Linked DNA regions of Homo sapiens: all the other regions are linked to region 1. Evidence: promoter capture Hi-C in 16 types of primary human blood cells and fetal thymus (Javierre and others, 2016). All regions are on one chromosome and are shown on one strand. The core of a region is centred on a gene start or on the middle of the fragment in contact, and the rest is flanking DNA. Distances in the headings are between cores, read along the strand shown.

What was found. The method cuts DNA at HindIII sites, captures the fragments that hold promoters and counts their contacts. A CHiCAGO score of 5 or more calls a contact.
Region 2: a contact is called between a fragment that was not itself captured here and the fragment with the promoter of PCDHGA7 in region 1, in 3 of 17 cell types (M1 macrophages, M0 macrophages and M2 macrophages). The highest score is 9.5, in M1 macrophages.
Region 3: a contact is called between a fragment that was not itself captured here and the fragment with the promoter of PCDHGA7 in region 1, in 4 of 17 cell types (M1 macrophages, M0 macrophages, erythroblasts and 1 more). The highest score is 13.7, in M1 macrophages.
Region 4: the fragment with the promoter of PCDHA5 here is called in contact with the fragment with the promoter of PCDHGA7 in region 1 in 6 of 17 cell types (M1 macrophages, M0 macrophages, M2 macrophages and 3 more); the score reaches 10.8 in M1 macrophages.
Region 5: the fragment with the promoter of PCDHA9 here is called in contact with the fragment with the promoter of PCDHGA7 in region 1 in 7 of 17 cell types (M1 macrophages, fetal thymus, M0 macrophages and 4 more); the score reaches 11.0 in M1 macrophages.

Annotation. Positions count from the first base shown.
Region 1 is chr5:141,381,489-141,384,000 of GRCh38, forward strand. PCDHGA7 (protocadherin gamma subfamily A, 7) reads left to right here and starts at 1,254. Exons shown (of 4, transcript NM_018920.4): 1 at 1,254-2,512. The coding sequence starts at 1,412. The region is part of intron 1 of PCDHGA1 (protocadherin gamma subfamily A, 1); the gene reads left to right. All of the region lies in intron 1 of PCDHGA2 (protocadherin gamma subfamily A, 2), which reads left to right. The region is part of intron 1 of PCDHGA3 (protocadherin gamma subfamily A, 3); the gene reads left to right. It also overlaps PCDHGB1, PCDHGA4, PCDHGB2, PCDHGA5, PCDHGB3 and PCDHGA6, and 1 more gene. The HindIII fragment of the contact is 6,225 bases long and covers 1-2,512 here.
Region 2 is chr5:140,739,452-140,741,963 of GRCh38, forward strand. The region is part of intron 3 of LOC105378198 (a long non-coding RNA gene); the gene reads left to right. Among named protein-coding and RNA genes, the nearest start is that of ZMAT2, 40 kb to the left of the region's middle. The HindIII fragment of the contact is 1,719 bases long and covers 399-2,117 here.
Region 3 is chr5:140,769,055-140,771,566 of GRCh38, forward strand. No RefSeq gene overlaps it. Among named protein-coding and RNA genes, the nearest start is that of PCDHA1, 16 kb to the right of the region's middle. The HindIII fragment of the contact is 3,232 bases long and covers 1-2,512 here.
Region 4 is chr5:140,820,359-140,822,870 of GRCh38, forward strand. It overlaps PCDHA5 (protocadherin alpha 5), which reads left to right and starts at 1,255. Exons shown (of 4, transcript NM_018908.3): 1 at 1,255-2,512. The coding sequence starts at 1,418. All of the region lies in intron 1 of PCDHA1 (protocadherin alpha 1), which reads left to right. All of the region lies in intron 1 of PCDHA2 (protocadherin alpha 2), which reads left to right. All of the region lies in intron 1 of PCDHA3 (protocadherin alpha 3), which reads left to right. It also overlaps PCDHA4 and PCDHA@. The HindIII fragment of the contact is 13,774 bases long and covers 1-2,512 here.
Region 5 is chr5:140,847,128-140,849,639 of GRCh38, forward strand. It overlaps PCDHA9 (protocadherin alpha 9), which reads left to right and starts at 1,255. Exons shown (of 4, transcript NM_031857.2): 1 at 1,255-2,512. The coding sequence starts at 1,369. All of the region lies in intron 1 of PCDHA1 (protocadherin alpha 1), which reads left to right. All of the region lies in intron 1 of PCDHA2 (protocadherin alpha 2), which reads left to right. All of the region lies in intron 1 of PCDHA3 (protocadherin alpha 3), which reads left to right. It also overlaps PCDHA4, PCDHA5, PCDHA6, PCDHA7, PCDHA8 and PCDHA@. The HindIII fragment of the contact is 21,410 bases long and covers 537-2,512 here.

The sequences.
Region 1 (2,512 bases), core at 4-2,503:
CAATTACACTAGAATAGAGTAGGATGAAGATTTGAATTGCATACTAGGATGAAGACTTGAATTGAATTGCATAATGAAAAGAATCAGCCAATCCATTATCCAGTTTCTTATGAATTCACAGCCCAGTAGGATCTCTGCAGATTTCTGCCTTCTGTAGAAAATGGGTTGCTTCTATAGCTGATTGCTGCAGCCAAGACAAACAACGATTTCTTTCTTTTTTTCTCACAAGACTGGGAGTGAGAATATTTGGATTCCGACATTGTTCTACTACTATATAATCAATAATCAGGAACAAGGCAAGGCAATTCCCTCTTTCTTTCTTTCTTTCTTTCTTCTTCTTTTTTTTTTTTTTTTTTTTTTGGCAGAGTTTTGCTCTTGTTGTCCAGGCTGGAGTGCAATGGTGTGATCTCGGCTCACCACAACCTCCACCTCCCGGGTTCAAGCGATTTTCCTGCCTCAGCCTCCTGAGTAGCTGGGATTACAGGCGCGCGCCACCACGCCCGGATAATTTTGTATTTTTAGTAGAGACGGGGTTTCTCCATGTTGGTCAGGCTGGTCTCAAGCTCCCGACCTCAGGTGATCCGCCCGCCTCGGCCTCACAAAGTGTGGGATTACAGGCGTGAGCAACAGCACCTGGCCCCCCCTCTCATTTTTTAAACGGTTAAAATGAAGGTGTTAGACCGTCTCTAAGGTTCTATACAATCAAAAATTTATTAAAATAGGTCTATATATTTTACAACAATTTTGACTTTCTGAATCTTGCATCATGGTGTCTAGAACATATGTGTTCAATTAATACTGAATTAATTAAAATTTATATACACTGATGTAAATATTTTCTAAGTAAAATCTTTCATATGTATTTAAATAAAATTTACCTTTTTGCCTTCAATAACTGATTTTCCCATGTGCAATAACGTGTGAGTCAGTGCCCAAAAGAGTCACTTGAAAGTTGCAAGGCAAAGCAGTTTTTTAAAAATTATCTAAGATTATCAAACACCGGTCCATGAACACTGTTGCATTAATTCAGTGTCTTAAAATGGATTTTTAATTATCAGGGATATCTAGAGCAAAGAAATCTAACAGGGAAATTTTGAAAGATGAAACAATTTTCTATGAAATCAGTGTATTGTGTGCATCAATGTGGTGCAGTAACTTAGTAAGGACTCACAGCGCCGCTGTTCACCAACCAGGGAAAAATGGTGCGAGAGATCCCACAGAAACCACCGAGTTTTACAGCACAGAGAAACGACAGATTGCGATAAGCCCTCTTCCAGGCTGCACTAAACTCAAGCCTCTATCCTGCTGGATTCTGAGCTCCCCTTCCTAAGACAGAGGGGTCCACCCGGATACACCCGCATTCTGAAGCACTTCCCGAGATCGGCGCCTAAGCAAGAGAAGCAGGACGACTATGGCGGCTCAGCCGAGGGGCGGGGACTACAGAGGATTCTTCCTGCTCTCCATCCTCCTGGGGACCCCCTGGGAAGCCTGGGCAGGACGTATTCTCTACTCCGTGTCGGAGGAGACGGACAAAGGGTCCTTTGTGGGAGACATCGCCAAGGACCTGGGGCTGGAGCCCCGGGAGCTGGCGGAGCGCGGAGTCCGCATCATCTCCAGAGGTAGGACGCAGCTTTTCGCCCTGAACCAGCGCAGCGGCAGCTTGGTCACTGCGGGCAGGATAGACCGGGAAGAGATCTGCGCTCAGAGTGCGCGGTGTCTGGTAAACTTTAACATCCTGATGGAAGATAAAATGAATCTTTACCCTATAGACGTGGAAATAATAGATATTAATGACAACGTTCCAAGATTCTTGACGGAAGAAATAAATGTAAAAATAATGGAGAATACAGCTCCTGGGGTTCGGTTTCCGTTAAGCGAGGCTGGGGATCCAGATGTGGGCACGAACTCCCTCCAGAGTTACCAGCTCAGCCCCAATCGCCACTTCTCCCTGGCTGTGCAAAGTGGAGACGATGAAACTAAGTACCCGGAACTGGTGCTGGAGCGGGTGCTGGACCGGGAGGAAGAGCGGGTTCACCACCTGGTCCTCACAGCCTCTGATGGCGGCGACCCGCCCCGATCCAGCACCGCCCACATCCAGGTGACAGTGGTGGATGTGAATGACCACACGCCTGTCTTCTCTCTGCCTCAGTACCAAGTAACTGTCCCCGAGAATGTGCCAGTGGGTACAAGACTGCTCACGGTACATGCTATCGACCTGGACGAGGGAGTCAATGGGGAAGTGACATATTCTTTTCGGAAAATAACTCCTAAACTTCCAAAGATGTTTCATCTGAACTCGCTTACAGGAGAAATATCAACTTTAGAAGGATTAGATTATGAAGAAACTGCCTTCTATGAAATGGAGGTTCAGGCTCAAGATGGTCCTGGTAGTCTGACAAAGGCAAAAGTACTGATCACAGTTTTAGATGTAAATGATAATGCTCCAGAAGTGACTATGACGTCTTTAAGTAGCTCAATCCCTGAAGACACACCTCTTGGGACAGTCATTGCT
Region 2 (2,512 bases), core at 8-2,507, 640 kb before region 1:
AAGTGGGAGCTAAGCTATGAGGCTGCAAAGGCATAAGAATGATACAGTGCACTTTGGGGACTCAGGGGTGTAGGGTGGGAAGTGGGTGAGGGATAAAAGACTACAAATTGAGTTCAATGTATACTGCTCTGGTGACGGGTACACCAATATCTCACAAATCACCACTAAAGAACTTACTCACGTAACCAAATACCACCTGTTCCCCAAAATCCTACGGAATAACCTCCTTATACTTTTCCCCTTCTTTTTCTAACCATGGAGAATGCCATATGAACACCTCAGACCTTTATATTTTTCTCTTGTTGTATACACTGGTTAGGCCCTTTGGAACAATGACGACAGGATGATTAAAGTGATGATAGCAGACATCCCTGTCTTGTTCTGGATTTCAAAGGGAAAGCTTTAATCATTTCACCATTAAGTATGATGTTTGCTTTAGCTTTTTTTTTTTCCCCTGGACACCCTTACCAAGTTACAAATATTCTCTTATATGCCTAAGGATACAACTAATATCTGCTAAAAATCTTAAGATTAATTAAGATTATTTTAAAATCATGAAAGGTTGTTGAATTTTATTAAGTAATTTTTCTGCATGTACATAGATAATCATGATTTTCCCTTTAGTTCATTAACTTTGCATATATACTAATTACTTTTATAATGTTAAGTCAACCTCATATCTTGGAGAAATTCTACTTATGCTGTATTATTCTTTTTTATGTACTACTGGATTTAATTTTCTAATAATTAGTATGGGTTTTTTTTCATTTATTTACATTAATGACATTAGACTGGGCTTTTCCTTTTTTGTGTGTATTTTTTACAATAGGATTCACTATCAGGTTATTTTAGCATTAGAAAATCATTTAGGAAGTGTTCCTTCTTATTAATTAGGATAGTTTGTATATGATTGAAATGACTTAATTTTTCTTTTCTTTCTTTTTCTTTTATTGAGACAGGCTCTTGCTCTCTCACCCAGGCTGGAATGCAGTGGTGCGATCATGGCTCACTGCAGCTTCCACCTCCTGGGCTCAAGCGATCCTCCTGCCTCAACCTCTCAAGAATCTGGGACCACAGGCACATACCACACGCCCAGCTAATTTTTTATTTTTAGTCGCGATGAGGTCTCACTGTGTTGCATGGGATGATCTCGAACTCCTGGGCTCAAGCCATCCTCCTACCTCGGCCTCCCAAAGTGTTGGGATTATAGGTGTGAGCCACTGTGCCTGGCCCTAACAATTCTTTGTTAGATGAATATTCATGTTAACATTTTTATGCCTTTGCAAAATATAATTCCCAGCAGAACATGGTCATATACCATGATTGTCTCCTTTTCTTCTTTCTACTTTTCCTGAAGTTAATGCTTGACTTTTCTTCATGTGCTTAGTTTTCCTTGGACCTCTTGTTAATTTTTTGCACATTCTTCAATAACTCTTAGTACAGTTTTCTATGTGGTATATCATTTCAGGTAATCAGAGAAAGTATTAATACAAAAGAGCTATAAGATACCAGAATGTTTAGGCCCAGATCCAGAGAGGAGTAATTGTTGTGGGTTATTACCTAGTAACCAGGTAACAATGAAGCTCTGGTAGCTTTAAAGACCCAAGGCTGGCATTTGGCAGTTTGGGAGGATTTCATGGGTCTGACTCATGTACTGGCTGTGAAAGTTGATTTGAGCTAAAATGACCCCGGTTTGGTCATCTGGGAAGCACTGAGGCTGGTCCAAGACTTGTGGCAGGTAGCCACTGAGTGGGAGGAGGGAGAGTGAGCCTAGACACAGCTGGGGGAACAGTTTTTAGGGAAAGGAAGACATGGGTTTCTCTCAGTGGTGTGCATCCTCAAATGGGGGCTTCCCAAGTTTGTGTGTCCTGGTCTGGAAGTTGTGGTGGGTAGAAGGAAACTTAAAACTCAGCATCGTTCTTGAACCATTCAGGCCTAGGCTGACCCTACTGCCCAGGGTATACCAACTCATGACACTTATCTGTCAAGGAACTCCAAATTCAATCTACTTTCTGCATTATCTCAGTGATATATTTGCATGCTTCTTCCTGTCTGTGTTTTGGGGGCAGGTTTGATGTCCATGGACCCTCTTTAGTCCTCTATGTATGTCCCCACCAAGCTTATCATTTTCTTGGAGATGGGAGAGAGCCCTTTTTCAAGGAGGGGTCTAAAACGGCATGGATTCCTGAGAAGACTAGGCTGGGTCAGGAGCTGAAGAGGTTTAAGGTTGGGACAGAAACTCTGGAGGTTAGCCTTGGTAAGAGTCTTTTGAGACCTACTCCATGAGTAAATCTGCTCTTCACCAAATTTCCAGATCCCCACAGTTCCTCTGAGCAGCTTCTCACTACTGTCATCTCTCCCAGATATGAACCAAATCCCTGGTTGCCAAGACAAGTTGACAAGGTTTGAAAAAGAAACTATTTTGAAACAGAACTTCAAGGAAAAATAAGAACCCATTCTCAGGCAAATCCTAGCAGCTTTGATTAGTAAAGAAACAGCAGTCCTTGTTTGA
Region 3 (2,512 bases), core at 7-2,506, 610 kb before region 1:
GGTCTCAGGCTGCCACATATCATGGTGGAATGTGGAAGGTTAGGCAGTGTGCAAAGAGATCAAATGATAAGAGAGGAGGCAGATGTTTATGTGTGCATGCCAGGTTCTTTTTAACTACCAGCTCTCGTAGGAACTATTTAGAGCATAAACTCACTAACCCAGCAGGGAAGGTATTAATCTATTCATGAGGTATCCACCTTCATGAACCAAATGCTTCCCACTAGGTCCTACCTCCTAACATTGCCACAATGGGGATCAAATTTCAACATGAAGCCTGGAGGGGACAAACATTAAAATTATAGCCACCTGCAAATTCTTTAACCTTCAAACAATCAAACACTTTGCTTCAGTCCTTCAGTTGTTTCCCTAGACAGATTAGAAGAGACAAACAAAAAAAATTGTAAATGAAGTCTGCTCTTCACCCTTTGGTTCTAGGGAAGGAACTGGGAACTGTGCTGTCACCAATTCAAGACCATGTTTGATATTGTGCCAGGAAGAAGGTCAGGCAAGGAAGAGTAAAATCATCACCAAATGTTTCTTTCTGAGACAGGGTCTTTCTCTGTTTTCCAGGCTGTTTTCATTTTTATTTTTTGGTAGAGATGGAGTCTGACTACCCAGGCTAGTCTCAAACTCCTGGCCCAAGCAAACCTCCTACCTTGGCCTCCCAAATTGCTGGGATTACAGGCATGGGCCACAGCTCCTGGCTAGATTTTTTTTTTCTTACAGTCTAAATATGTTCATAGATTTTTTTTTCTTGATTGGGCGTTTACTTGGTTGTTGTAGACCTTTGACTGTTTTTTGTTTTGTTGATGTTTCTGTTGGGGGACAAAAGTTCGGAGCCTCCTTGTTCATGATTTTGCTGTCTTCGCTTCTGATTTTATAATTAAACTTGTTGATATGGTTTGGATATTTGTATCCTCCAAATCTGATGTTAAAATGTGATCTCCAATTTTGGAGGTGAGCCTAGTGGGAGGTATTTTGGTCATGGAGGTGGATCCCTCATGAATGGCTTGGTGCCCTCCCTGTGGTAATAAATGAATTCTCACTTTATTAGTTCACATGATAGCTACTTATTTACAGGAGCCTGGCACCTCTCTTGCCATGTGATATGCCTGCTCCCCTTTCACCTTCTCTCTCCCTTTTTTTTTTTTTTTTGAGACAGAGTCTCACTCTGTCGCCCAGGCTGGAGTGCAGTGGAGCGATGTCAGCTCATTGCAACCTCCACTTCCCTCGTTCAAGCAATTCTCCTGCCTCAGCCTCCAGAGTAGTGGGGACTACAGGCGCGTGCTACCACACCGGGCTAATCTTTGTATTTTTTTAAGTAGAGATGGGGTTTCACTATGTTGGCCAGGCTGGTCTCGAACTCCTGACCTCATGACCTGCCCGCCTTGGCCTCCCAAAGTGCTGGGGTTACAGGCATGAGCCACCATGCCTGGCCTCCTCCTTCACCTTCTATTATGAATAAAAGCTCCTGAGGCCTCAGGAATAAGAGGCTATCAGAAATAGATGTTGCCACCATGCTTCTTGTACAGTCTGCCAAACCATTGGCCAAATAAACCTATTTTCTTTATATAGTACTGACCTCAGGTAGTCCTTTATAGCAAAGCAAATCAGATGAACACACTTATTATTTAAGATAATTGTAGGCTCACATGCAATTATAAGAAATAATAATCCTCTGTACTCTTTACCCACTTTTCCACAATGGTAACATCTTCCAAGACTATCAATATTACATCCAAAATATTGATATTGATGCAGTTAAGATCCAGAACATTTCCATTACTACAGAGATTCCTTATATTGCCCTTTTATGCCCATACTACCTTTCACCCCTGGCCCACCTCTTTCTTAACCCTTGCAACGACTAATCTGTTTTCCACTTTTAAAATGTTGTTATTTCCAGAATGATATATAAATAAAATCATACAGTATAAAACATTTTGTGATTAGTCATTTTCACTCAGCATAATTCTCTGGAAATTCATCCAGGTTATTGAATGTATTAATATAATGGAATAGAATTCCATTACATAGATGTTCCCCTGTTTATTATTCATCTGTTGAAGGACATCTGGGATGTTTTAAGTTCAGGAATATTATGAATGAAATTTGTATTACCATTTGTGTAAAGGTTTTTGTGTGAACACAAGTTTTTACTTCTATTAAATAAATGCCAAAGAATGCAATTATTGTTCTATATGAGAGGTCCATGGGTAGTTGGTTGCTTTGTTTTGTTTTTAAAGAAACTGCCTTACTCTTTATCAGAGTGGCTATAGCAGTTTGCATTATCACCAGAATGTATGAGTAATCTAGTTTCTCTGAATTTTTTTCTAACATTTGGTGTTTTCAACATTTTATCTGAGTCATTCTGATAGGTATCTAATAATACCCAATTGTAGTTTTATTGCTCCTCCCTAATAGCTACTGGCATTGAAAATATGTTCATGTGTTTCTTTGCCTTCTTGGATATTTTCTTTGGTAAAATGTCTTTTCATATCCAGGTTCTAAT
Region 4 (2,512 bases), core at 5-2,504, 560 kb before region 1:
ACTTTGCATTTTCTGGTAATTTCTTTTTTCTTATCAAGCTATATTTTAAATGTAAAAGTATCCAACAATAGAATTGCTAATCTCTTGGTCCCTCTTGTCTTCACAGGTAAGGGATATTTTGTAATATTTAAGGAATTTTATGGAGTATATATACAAGCAGAATGTTAGCTATTTCTTCAATAGAAAACTTGGTGATATTTTCTTTTGCCCATATTTATTAAGTGAAGTTTACTAAATTTTCTAGGTCGTGTTCAAATCATACCATCCAGTAAACAGTTGGGAGATTAAAAAGTAATTAAACTAATATAAAGATAGCCTGGTTAATAAAATGATATTCTTTTCAACATGATTATATTTACTGGAACCTAAACATTTTGTGAAATAGTATGTCATATAGACAATATTAGGATTTTGACTTGTTATGTAAGTACAAAGGTATGTATTTTACAATTTTTAATAATTGCTTTATCAGTAATAGCAACTTGAAGAAATGCTATCTAGATGCTTCTAATTTGAAAATAGTGCAAAGACGATTTACCAAAGTCGTTCTATTATGCTTTTGATTTCTAGAAAGCTGAAATATCCCCATTACAGTTTTTGAGTCAATACAAAAAGTAGATAGGTGTTATAGATAAAGAAATAGGTTTTCATCGATTTGAAAATTAGAACTCCGAGAAGAAACTCAGGTAAGAATGCCATTAAAATAGTTTTAGTTGTTTTTGAAAATAACATCAACAAAATGTCACTATTAAACAGTGAAATTGGAATAAAAATTTGTTTTATGAGTAACACGGAGATAGCATACAAACATTCCATTGACTAATACAGAAAAAACTCAAAAGTTTTAATTAGATATGTTTAAATAGAGATGAGAAAAGTCAAAACTTTAACTCTTAAAAGTTATTTTTATCAGTTTGGAAATATATAAACTCCTCCCTATATAAAATACACCAGCACAAATTTCTCTAGTAAGGATTGGGGTTTCATGACTTTAGATGTATTTTTCTGTAATATTTTAATGACGCACTTATATTGACGCATTTTAAGATAGAGTTTAATGATATATTTTGACTAGAGATAAGTGATTTAAAGAATAAGAATCATGTCATTGAAAGTGAGAATACTTGAGAAATATTGACGAATATAAGCTAAATAAAGCAAAACAAAATAAAACACTTACCCTTTCATCCACATGATGTCGCTGGACACCGGAAGGTTTTTCTCCCTTCCCAGCCTCAAAGGAATACAGTGAGTAGATTTTCCTTAGACAGAAAGGAAAAGAACCTTCCATTTTTGGCTGTGCCAAGAAGCTCAGAAAGGCGATAATATAAAAAATATATAGTTAATTGGGAATTGAATTTACAAAATACATTGTGTGGTGATGCAATAGAAAGCTCATAATTGGAACGAGATTGAGATGGTATATTCCCGGAGAGGAAGTCTGGGATCCCGGCTCCTGCTGCTCTGGCTTCTCCTTGCCTACTGGAAGGCAGGGAGCGGCCAGCTCCACTACTCGATCCCGGAGGAAGCCAAACACGGAACCTTCGTTGGCCGCATCGCGCAGGACCTAGGGCTGGAGCTGGCGGAGCTGGTGCCGCGCCTGTTCCGGGTGGCGTCCAAGGGCCGCGGGGACCTTCTGGAGGTAAATCTGCAGAATGGCATTTTGTTTGTGAATTCTCGGATCGACCGGGAGGAGCTGTGCCGGCGGAGGGCGGAGTGCAGCATCCACCTGGAGGTGATCGTGGACAGGCCGCTGCAGGTTTTCCATGTGGAGGTGGCAGTGAAGGACATCAATGACAATCCGCCCAGGTTCTCCAGACAAGAACAAAGATTATTCATTTTAGAGTCAAGAATGCCAGATTCGCGGTTTCCGCTAGAGGGCGCGTCGGATTTGGATATTGGAGCAAATGCACAATTGAGATACAGGTTAAATCCAAACGAATATTTTGACTTAGATGTTAAAACAAATGAAGAAGAAACGAACTTTTTAGAGCTGGTTTTGAGGAAATCCTTAGATAGAGAAGAAACACAAGAACACCGTTTATTAGTGATTGCAACTGATGGAGGAAAACCCGAACTAACAGGTACAGTTCAGTTGTTGATCAATGTATTGGATGCTAATGATAACGCCCCAGAATTTGATAAATCCATTTATAATGTCAGATTGTTGGAAAATGCACCAAGTGGGACATTAGTTATTAAACTGAACGCCTCAGATGCAGATGAGGGCATCAATAAGGAAATAGTGTATTTCTTTAGTAATCTTGTTCTTGACGATGTAAAGTCCAAATTTATAATTAATTCTAATACTGGTGAAATAAAAGTTAACGGGGAACTGGATTATGAAGACTATAACTCATATGAAATTAATATTGATGCCATGGATAAAAGTACATTCCCATTATCAGGACACTGTAAAGTAGTAGTGAAACTCCTGGATGTGAATGATAATACCCCAGAGATGGCCATAACCACCCTTTTCCTGCCTGTCAAAGAGGACGCTCCACTCAGC
Region 5 (2,512 bases), core at 5-2,504, 530 kb before region 1:
AAACCAATGTAAGAAGATCTCTTGATTTCTGAGTAATAAACTAAAGGGCCATGAGTGATTAAGGAATTTGGCCACTCTTTAGAATTAATTGGGAGCTATTTAACTACCTTGAGCAAAATAAATCACGACTTTTGAAAGAAGGTTGAACGGGAAGACAAACTCAGAAGCTCCTGCAGTAATCAAGGACAGAAGCAATTGTTAAATGCACCTCTTAGGCTGTTATCAGTAGAAATACGAAATAAAAGATAAATATGCAAAAACATTAATGGCACAATAAACACTCACGGTTTTGCCTTTAGACTTGAGATACACTAAAATCTAGATTTAATTAATCGACTTGGACGTTGGAATAAGATAGTAAAACTCACAACAAAACTTTGTAGAACTTAGTCAGGAAAAGAATCTCAAGCATAGCTTTAAAAACAGAAATTGCCCCGAGTACTAAGGATGAGCAATAATGAAATTAAAACATATTGTAATAACATTACACAAACTATATTGGAGACTACAAAGAAGAGATTATTCATAGATTATAAAGCTTGGAAAGAATCAAAACAACACATTTCTGGAAACAGATTGTATAAATGCTACAAAAGAGAAAAATATATTTTCTCCCCACGCAACACAAGACCTTAAAGTCAATTCTCGCTTTTCTTGCAATATTTTATACCTTTTCAATTCATAGAATTACTCAAGAAAACTACCTCAGTTGGTTGCTACTTTTTGTTGATTCCTTTTACCAGACATGACTAAGTTTCTTTTTCATCAGTAGATTTCTGGGCTCCTATATTCACTAGAGATTGCAACTCCTGGATTTCTCTTACACTAGAATCCTATTTCGAGCCATATGGGAGATTCTGAATTCCAGAACAAAAGAATTTTGTAATTTAAAATTCGTGATTGCTCAATGGAATCATTTTAATTGTTACTTCATTTCTGTCGTTATTTAAAACTTAAGTGGAGAGTTTTCTCAGGGATAAGAAAACCACAATCAAGGTCATACAAAACTTTTAGAGGCAGTCAGTCTGCTAAGAAGGCTCCAGCAAGAGAAACGGGATCTTCTGTTTCAACAATCATTACTTAAGAAAAAATTAAGAAAATGAAATAAGTTTTGCAGAATAACTGTGAAATTTTTATTCATGAAATATGTACTTACACTTTGGGCCACGTGATGTCACTCTTTGCCGCGATGTTCTCTCTGAATCCAGACAAATACAGCCCTTTTCCCATGGGAAAGAGGCTCAATTCTTTTTCACTCTCTCTGTGCTGAACGATGGCGAACACAGCAGAATGGGACTGACGAAATCAGATGATTTCTTCTAATTTGGAGGCAATTTTCACTAATTAGAAGAAGACTGAGTATTTGAAATGTTATACTCAAGTCGAGGAGATCCAGAGGGTCAGCCTCTACTGCTCTCGCTTCTGATCCTCGCAATGTGGGTGGTGGGGAGCGGCCAGCTCCACTACTCCGTCCCGGAGGAAGCCGAACACGGCACCTTCGTGGGCCGCATCGCGCAGGACCTGGGGCTGGAGCTGGCGGAGCTGGTGCCGCGCCTGTTCCAGTTGGATTCCAAAGGCCGCGGGGACCTTCTGGAGGTAAATCTGCAGAATGGCATTTTGTTTGTGAATTCTCGGATCGACCGCGAGGAGCTGTGCGGGCGGAGCGCGGAGTGCAGCATCCACCTGGAGGTGATCGTAGACAGGCCGCTGCAGGTTTTCCATGTGGACGTGGAGGTGAAGGACATTAACGACAACCCTCCAGTGTTCCCAGCGACACAAAAGAATCTGTTCATCGCGGAATCCAGGCCGCTTGACTCTCGGTTTCCACTAGAGGGCGCGTCCGATGCAGATATCGGGGAGAACGCCCTGCTCACTTACAGACTGAGCCCCAATGAGTATTTCTTCCTGGACGTGCCAACCAGCAACCAGCAGGTAAAACCTCTTGGACTTGTATTACGGAAACTTTTAGACAGAGAAGAAACTCCGGAGCTTCATTTATTGCTCACGGCCACCGATGGAGGCAAACCCGAGCTGACTGGCACCGTTCAATTACTCATCACGGTACTGGACAACAATGACAATGCCCCAGTGTTCGACAGAACCCTGTATACGGTGAAATTACCAGAAAACGTTTCTATCGGAACGCTGGTGATTCACCCCAATGCCTCAGATTTAGACGAAGGCTTGAATGGGGATATTATTTACTCCTTCTCCAGTGATGTTTCTCCAGATATAAAATCCAAGTTCCACATGGACCCCTTAAGTGGGGCAATCACAGTGATAGGACATATGGATTTTGAAGAAAGTAGAGCACACAAGATCCCAGTCGAGGCTGTCGATAAAGGCTTCCCACCCCTGGCTGGTCATTGTACACTTCTTGTGGAAGTTGTGGATGTAAATGACAATGCTCCACAGTTGACTATCAAAACGCTCTCGGTTCCTGTAAAAGAGGACGCACAACTGGGGACAGTTATTGCCCTGATTAGTGTGATCGACCTAGACGCAGATGCCA